Regions from separate parts of the Homo sapiens genome. Here region 1 is linked to region 2. The links are contacts of gene promoters, found by promoter capture Hi-C in human tissues and cell types (Jung and others, 2019). All regions are on one chromosome and are shown on one strand. The core of a region is centred on a gene start or on the middle of the fragment in contact, and the rest is flanking DNA. Distances in the headings are between cores, read along the strand shown.

Region 1 (4,337 bases), core at 158-2,657, 740 kb after region 2:
ATCTGTGCTGAGATCTGGGCATATACATTTCTTGGAACTTTCTCCAGCTTCCTGTACAAATCTACCTATTGCAGCAGCATTTGTAATAGCAGAAGGTTGGTAACAGCCTAACTGTCCACCAATAGGAAACTGGCTAAATAAATCATAGTCCATCCAGACAATGGTATACTGTGTGCCCTAGAAAGGAATGAAGAAGCTCTTAAGTACTGATAGAAGGAGACCTTCAGGATAGGTTACTGGGTTAAAGAAAAAAAAAAGCAAGGTGTATAACATATACTATTTTTTCATCAAACTTTAATCAAACTTTTTCTGTAAAGAGCCTGACGGTAAATATTTTAGGATTTACAAGCCACGTATAACCTCAGCCTGGAGGCGCTGATGTGGCTTCAACAGAATAAACCTGTAAATGGAGTGGATCACAGAAAACTGAGGTGTTAGTCCTGAGTGGCCACTGGAGAAGACAGGCACCTGTGTTAGGACCCTCGGATGGAGGCTTCTGAAGAACCTACAGAGGCACCTGATGTTAAAGCACTAGCTTTTACCATTCTCAACCGCTAGAGCCAGAGAATAACCCTACAAAGCCAGCCAGCTATCCCTCCCCACTGTCCTCCCCACACCAACCTTGCCCTGCCACCTGGAATAACATGCATCCCCCCTGCCATGAGATAGCCTTTTGATGTTACCACCTCCTGAGCCTCCTTCTTTCTTTCCCTCCTCTATTTCCAGCTGCTCCTAATGTCACAAGGCTCCCAGACATCTACCCAGCCTCCTTTGTCTCTGACCGGTCTCGGTCCATCTGGGGCAGCCATCCTTCTCCTTGTTCCTGGAGCTCCCAGCTTTAGATCACTGGCACTCCTGGGGGGCCATCTCGTCGATTTTGACACTTTTATCTTCTGAGGATGATCCTTTTCCACACTGTAACTTCCCAGCCCTGAATTTGTCCAGAAACTGAAAACCACTGGACGTGGGGCCAGACCTAGCTGTGACCTCCAGCAAATTATTTCTCATCTCCAAGGCTCTGTTTCCTGATCTGAGGAAGTGGAGATAATAAAACCACCGCTGAGGGATATGAGGATTCAAAGACCTAGTGTGCATGCCCGCCAGATGCTTTGTGTGACAACTTCTGGTGCCCAGTGTGAACGTGGAGATACTTTGCCCTCTCAGCGGACTCATCTCAGTGGATTAATCAGAAGTGCACACAGCTTTTGGGGTTTGCTGTGGAGAAGCTTGTGCTGCTTGGAAGGACTGTGGTTCATGAAAAAGCCCCTAGATACCCTCAGCTCCTCCTACCCCATCCCTGCTGCAGAGGCTCAATTTATATCTGTGGTCAGGGCTGAGCCCGGAGGTCTATACCCAGAGCCGCACACCTAGGAATCGAGGGAACACTCTCTGAGGAAGCTGACTTAGAGACTCGGAGGTGCCTTCTTCAATCCTGGCAGCTGCCTGGTGCTGCTGGGCTTGGGAGGATTAGAGCAAGAAACCAGGGGCTGAGCACAGTGGCTCACGCCTATAATCCCAGCACTTTAGGAGGCTGAGGCAGGAGGGTTGCTTGAGCCCAGGAGTTTGCAACCAGCCTGGGCAACAAAGCAAGACTGCATCTGTACTTTTTTTTTTTTTTAATCAGGTGGGCTGTTGTGGTGTGTGATACTTGGCAGGCTGAGGTGGGAGGACTGCTTGAGCCCAGGTGGTTGAGTCTGCAGTGAACCCAGATTACACCATACTCCAGCCTGGGCAACAGAGCGAGACCCTGCCTCAAAAAAAAAAAAAAAAAAAAAAAAAGAAAAGAAAAGAAAAGAAAGAAAGAAAAAAAAAAGAAAAAGAAAAGAAAAGAAACCCTATCTAGACACAGAGCCATTGCAAAGAGCCAGCAAATATGTTTGATCTGTCAGATATGTTTAGCAGTGGAGGGAGCAAAACTGAGGCTGGGCCAGTAGGACATGTACACTGGGGGCGGCTGAAGGCTCAGTTGAGGTCTGAGGAGGGCAGACGAGTGGGGCAAATAGCCCTGCCCCTGCCATCCATAGATGCTTCTCATTGAGAGGGACCATGGCCTGGGGGGCTTTCTTGTGATCTCGATGACACTCAGCAGTGACATGAGTGGGACGGGGTTTCCGGTCCCCGTGGCATGTGCTTCCCCCCAACCTTTCACCAAGGACCTACCATGTGCCAAAGACTAAGCACTGGGGATAGAAGGTGAACGAGACCGGTGTGGCCCCCCGCCCTGCTCTTGGACCTGCCAATCTCCAGGGTTTGTTTTCTTGAGACTCCTGACGCTGCCTGGCCCGAGTCAGCACTAGGGATTCCTGATCTCTGCATATCCCTTCCCAGCCATCCAAGACAGCAAGAGCTGTTGCTTCTCTTCTCAAATTTCTCCCTTGGCTTCTTGATTGAGAGTTTCATCCCAGCTATGGTTTAAAAAACAAACAGCAAACAAACAAACAAACTAACCACACACTCAAACAAACCTCAGACTGCACAATGGAAGCACTGCCTGGAATCATAAAGATCATTTGTTCAATGTCCCTTTTTCTCACTGCCAGGCCAGTGCTCTCGTCTGCACCATGGAACCCATTATGACTTGAACCTTTCCAGATTGATTCCCCATAAACCTAATGAAGACATTGGAAAGGTGAGCTGAGGTAAGGTCGTGAAGAAACTCTAATGGAGCCCTATGGAGTTTGGAGTTTTGACAGCATACTGGGGACAATGGGAAGCCATTGACAGAGAAAAGCAGGACAGTGCCATGATGCATCTTCCATTCATTTATTACATTCAGTTAGCAAATATTTATTGAGCAGGTACTCCGTGCCAGGCTATGGGGATATAACATCGAACAAGATAGACAAGTTGCTCATCTTCATGTCTCCAGTGGGGAGACAGACAACGACCATGGTAAATAAATGAGAATGCACATCAGTTCACTGAATTAATAAGACTTTCCATGGCGTGGAGTGGTGGGGGGCAAGAAATGAACAGGATGCTGTGATTCAGAATAAAAGAAGGAATCCTCTTTAGAGAGCATAGCTTGAGAAACTTTCTCTAAGATAGTGATCTTTTAGATAAGTATTAAAAAAATGGGAAGAACCCAGTCTTTTCAAGAGCAGGGGAAAGAGTGTTACAGTTTGGAGCAGGGCGAGGGGTGGGTGGGGGATGCAGTGAGTGCACAGGCATTGCGGCTGGAAAGACTTTGGAGGACTCTTGGAACTGAAGGAAGGTTGGTGTGAATGGAGTGCTGAGGAAAGTGTTATGAGCTCAGGAGGCAGAGGGTGTCAGATGTCATCATGCTTAGAGGCTACCATAGGTGAGAAATGACAGAGTCATTAACCAAGGTGGTGCAGAGATGGAGAGAAATGGACCAATGTGAGTATATTTTGGAGAGAGAACCAGCAAGTCTTGCTAATGGATTAAATGGGAGGAAGGTGGGTATAGCAGCAGGCAGAGAAGGAGGCAGTGATGTTTCCCACGTCTCTGGTTGGAGCTGTTGTTTACTAAGATGGAGAAGCCCGGGAAGGTGGGACCAGGTTTAGCGAGTAAAACCAGATCAAGTTTACTTTCTGGAAAGCACTGGGAAGGCTGGACTTGGGGAGGACAAGGCCAGTGCAGGGTGCCCTTTGGAGGCTAATCCAGTATTCCAGGTGAGAGATCATGATGAGGATGGGCTAAGGTTGTGAAGGGGGATGAAGGGATACCCATGTCTCTGCTAAACAAGCAAAGAGAAGAGTTTCCCACTGCTTCAGACGCTATGAATTTCATTTTGTGAGATGGCTCAACAGACCAACCAGAGGGAGGAGTTCTTTTTGGGTAAGGTTGAAATGAAACCAACATGTGGAGAGGAGTGGAGGCGAATGATGTGGAAAATGGGGTCACGAGAGAGACCAGGCAGAGACTGCAGCAATGCAGTGTCTTCCACAGCTGGCTGTTTGACATGGGAGAGAGGAGTCTGGATTCACCATCTGTGCCAGGGAGAAATCCATCCTGGGAAACAGATGGTCAGCAGTCATGCCCATGCACCCTGGATGACCACGGGGGTTCCCTGGGGCTCTGCAGCCCGGGTGATTTTCTTGGGAGGTTTGGGACAAGCATTCAGAGGCTGTGGGCATAGCAGGCTCTAGGATTTCTGCTCTTGATGTCACTGTTACCCAGACCCCTAGAGCTGGGTCCCAGATGGTGCAGCTGAGACGAGCTCTCTTCTCCTTAGCCTCACTGTCCTCCAGCAGTGCCCCTTCCAGCCTCTGAGGTTAGCAAAAGGCAGTGGCTGGTGGCACTGACTGAGTGACCACTCAGTCAACCCTAGTCCCAGTCAGGATAGCCATTTTTTTCATTCATTTGTTCATTCA
Region 2 (4,526 bases), core at 469-2,968:
ATGGATTTTTCAGATTCTGGGCTAGGAAAAAGAGCCAGCTCAGGTTTTTTTATTTTCTTTTAAACTTTTATGGCTTTGAAGCGCCTCACCTGCCATGTAATAAAACAGGAAGCAGGGGAACGCTGATGTAACCCTGAGGAATCAAATCCACTGAGCCCTGGCACTCTGAGAAGAACCAGGTCCTCTGGAGCTGGTCCACCGACACCATGCAAAGGCGAAGATGAAGTAGGGAGGTGCCTTAATGCAAAGTCACCCACTTACCCCTAGGCAAGTGTTTAGGTTTATGGATTGTCAGCCCTTATGAAGGGCTCCTTCTTCCTTTATTATTGTCTTTGGGCTGCTCCAGACACCATGGAGGCAAAATTCAAATGAAACACTCACCATCTTTATTGTAAATCATTAAGGAAGATCCTACCTGGGCAGGCAGGCTCTAGGTAGATGGAAAGTATTGACCAAAATGAAGGGCAGGGGGGTTTGTGTATCTCAGCTTTTCGTTGATCATGAAGGGATGTGCCTATGGCTAAGTTTCCCTTCTACACAGGTTATTGCATTTAGTATCCTCCCCACCCGACCTGGCCTGTTTCATTCTCAGGCACTTGCCAGCTACTTGCAGCGGCAGAGCACCCAGCTCTCAGATAGAGTTCAGGTGACAGGTAACCAGCACAGAAGGGAAGCAGCGAAGGCTCGTACATAACCTGCCCCTATTCAGAGCTGCCCCGTTTGGTCATTTCTGTACATCTCGGCCTGCCCTCATCTCATGAGGTCTCACTTTACCCCCTGGGCCATAGAAGGACAGATGTTCCTATGACGTTCCCACTTCCCCGCCTGCCAGCAAGCAGGATCTGCCATGTCCTCGCTTCTGCCCTTAGCTGGATCTCCGTATCATGTCCCAGCCTCATTTGTCCCCAGAAGCCCATTTGACCTGGGGATTGTGGCTTAGAAAATGATATATGAAAACCAAAGAAGCCAGAGCTCTTTCAAAACAAACCCTATGCATCCCAGAAACAATCTGCACTTTTAACCTTGGCTTTTTCTTCTTTCTCACTCTCATCAGAAAGGAAGTGTGTCTATATATGCTGAGTGAGTCAATCTCCTGTGCTTGGATCTACTCCGAAGGGGTATGGCTGTAGGAGTTCGTGAAGCAAGATTCACCAGAAGAACACCAAGCAAGCCCTGCTCTTTATTCCTTTCTTTCTTTCCCTCTCTTCTTTCTTTCTTGCTCACCTCTGAGGGAGCCCTTTCCAAGAGAAACTTCGCTTTTGCAAGTCAGAGCGGGTAACTCAGAATTGATTCCCTAAGGCAATTTGGTACTTTTAAAATGATAAAAAGAGCAAATAAAATAGGAGCTGGTCCGCTTTCCTGAGACAGTACAGCCCCACGATTTGGGATGACAAAACCACGTCACAGTCTCAGGGAGGGCCACAGGAGCTCCAGCACCACCAGCCAAGTCCCTAAAATTATCACTGGAAAAGCACCACCCCCCCTCAACCCCTCACCCCAAACACACACAGCCCACCTCCTGAGACTCCCAGTCCTGCTCCCAGGCAGACCCCAGGAGGAAAATGCTCCCTCCTAGGGTGTCCTCCTAGGGTGTCCCGGACGCTACTCACAGTACCTCTTGGCAAGGACGAGATGAGAAGGAGCTGAAGAAAAGTGAGCCCCAACTGCGTCCAGCAACCCAGCTCCATCCTTGCCGCGGCTGGTGCCCGAGCGTCTACTGGGGAGGGAGAGGAGGGACCCAGGGAGGCCGGGGGCAGGCGGGTTTTACAGGGACCTCCCCGAGCCCCAGCTGAGCGGGAGCTCGGGTTTCAGCTCGCCAGGCTCTCCCATCCTCATCTGAGGGGAACCACCTTCAGCCAGAGCGACGTCAGCCCAAACCTCTCCTCTCTGCTGCCTTAACCCTTGCGGGGCCCCGGGAGGTGTGGCCACGCCTGGAGACCCGCGGACGGCGGCTGCAAAGGAAGCTGCGGGGGAGGGAGGCCAGCCTGGGTACAGGTGGGGTCCCAGTGTTGGGTGCTGGGAGGAGGGGCCATAGGACCCTGGGCGGGAGCAGAGGTACCCAGGGCTGCGGGGCGCTCAGGTGAGGCCGGGAGATCTTCCTACGGGAGGCTGAGACGGGAGCTGGCTTTGCCCTCTCTGACTGCACGCGGGGAGCCTGATTAAAAGCCTGGCCTGAGGAGAAGGAGGAGTTGGTGATGGGAGGAGAAAGGGAGCCTCCCTCCACTCCGCACGCAACACTCCTCGTTTATCTCCTTTCCTCTCCGTTTGCTCCAGGTGATCACAGGTTGGAAAGCTTATTATCTTTTGCAACTACAGGCTACTGGAAAAAGTTTTCCTCTTCCTATGATCCCCGTCATGGTGAATTCAGCGACATAAGCAGCTCCTGAGCTACTGGAAAAAGTTTTCCTCTTCCTGTGATCCCCACGATGGTGAATTCAGCAACATAAATAGCTCCTGCGCACACGCCAGGCAGGGATGGCGAAGAACACACAAGAACCCTCACTGCCTCCACCAAAAGGGCTCAGTTTAGGTACAAGATAGCAAGTGACATCTCGAAATGAGGAAGAAGGATGTTTCATAATAGGTGACTTTTTAAAATAAACTCCTCCGTGCCAGGTGTCATGTACCTTACATGTATTAACTCAATTATTCCTCACAATAAACCTAGCCTCTGTATTTTACAATTAGAGAAACGGAACCATTGAGGATTACAATAACTCATCCAAGGCCACACAGTTAGTGAGGGGCAGAGCCAGGGTTTGAACCCGGGCAGCTTAGGCCCACAGGCTATAGTCTTAGCCACTAGGCTATAGAGCTTCTTAGGATGCTACATATGCAGAATTGTATTTCACCATTTGATATGGCTTCGCTGTGTCCCCACCCAAACCTCATCTTGAATTGTGGTTCCCATAAACCCCACGTGTCATGGGAGGGACCAGGTGGAGATAATTGAATCATGGGGACAGTTACCCCCATAAAAGTTTTAATTTTGTTCTCTAGATGTTGGCGGGCCCTGGTGGTTTACAAGTAGGGTGTGCTGAGCTCAAAGCAAAGTCTCGGGAAGAGAAGTCACCCTGGACTATTGATGAAGGCCTGGAGTAAGGATTAAGAAATGGAAGTGGAAGGGAAAAGATAAGGGGAGAAACCTGAGGAAGGTAGAATCTGTAAAGCTCAGGACAGATCAGAAGGTCAGGAGCCCTGACACAGGTGCTCTACTAGAAAGAATTTCTGAACTCCAGCCCTGCTTCTGGGGGCCTATTGCAGTGAAGTGACTGGAAGCAAGAACTCAGCAGGCCTGTGTTCTAATTTTGTTGATTCACCACTTTCTGGCTGTGTGACCTTAAGCAAGTTAACTCTCTGAATCTCAGTCTTCTCATCTATAAAATGGAAATAATAATCAAACCTACTTTGTAGATCACTGGAAGAATTTAATAAGATTACGCATGTAAGGCCCATAGCACAGAGCCTACCACATATTAAGTGCACACTAAATATTAATCATTATCTCTATTATCTGACCTGAGACTGCCCCCAAGAACATCTCATGGTATGAGTCTTGTTCCTACACTCAACTTCCATATCGAGATGAAATCAGTTAAAATAAGCACCAAGAGTAGCCTTAAACAGGAGCAGAATACCAGAGGGCAGCATATACCTAAGAGGTAGAGGGCAGAGGTTCGAAGAAGGGAGGTTCACCTTGTTGCTGGCCAACCAGTCCTGGTCCTTTGGTGATGGGAGTGGGAAGAAGATGACTTAGTTCCCAAATAACTGTAGGCATAAGAGCCTCTCAGGAGTCTGTTTCAACTCCAGCTGACGGCACCTGAGCTTTACAGATTCTACCTTCCTCAGGTTTCTCCCCTTATCTTTTCCCTTCCACTTCCATTTCTTAATCTTTACTCCAGGCCTTCATCAATAGTCCAGGGTGACTTCTCTTCCCAAGACTTTGCTTCGAGCTCAGCACACCTTACTCCTAAACCACCAGGGCCCACCAACATCTAGAGAACAAAATGAAAACTTTTATGGGGGTAACTGTCCCCATGATTCAACTATCTCCACCTGGTCCTTCCCATGACACGTGGGGTTTCTTTTCATCTTCCCTCTCCCCACCTCCCAGCCCCCACCACACACACCTCTCTGAGTCAATACCAAGCAGCCTCATCCCTACATGAATTGCATCCCCCTGACAGAATGGGGCTCTAAGTGATGAACCTGAAGGATAGCAGTCTATACCACCCCCAAATATGCCCCTTTGGCATAAGGATTATTTTGAGCTGAAAGCAGTTAAGAAGAAGTAGATACAAGAATAGGTCTCTGTTCTCCCCCCATTTTCCTAAAAGCAGACTTGAATTTATAAAAGTATAGTGTCTCCACCTCCCCTCTCTACCAGGACGGACAGAAGTTAATCATTGGAGACAACCCTAGACCCTTATCAGCCCAGAGGAATCTACATACCAAAACTTACTAACTAGTCTTATCTCCCATTAGGACCCCCATTTATTTATCTTCCCATAATTTGCTACCCCTAG

The links. The method cuts DNA at HindIII sites, captures the fragments that hold promoters and counts their contacts. A contact is called where the count stands out against the background at its distance.
Region 1: a fragment that was not itself captured here is called in contact with the fragment with the promoter of PAMR1 in region 2 in 2 of the 25 tissues and cell types used here (bladder and mesendoderm cells).

The regions. Positions count from the first base shown.
Region 1 is chr11:36,260,671-36,265,007 of GRCh38, forward strand. No RefSeq gene overlaps it. Among named protein-coding and RNA genes, the nearest start is that of COMMD9, 27 kb to the right of the region's middle. The HindIII fragment of the contact is 7,628 bases long and covers 1-4,337 here.
Region 2 is chr11:35,523,898-35,528,423 of GRCh38, forward strand. It overlaps PAMR1 (peptidase domain containing associated with muscle regeneration 1), which reads right to left and starts at 1,719. Exons shown (of 11, transcript NM_001001991.3): 1 at 1,616-1,719. The coding sequence starts at 1,688. The HindIII fragment of the contact is 6,683 bases long and covers 1,125-4,526 here.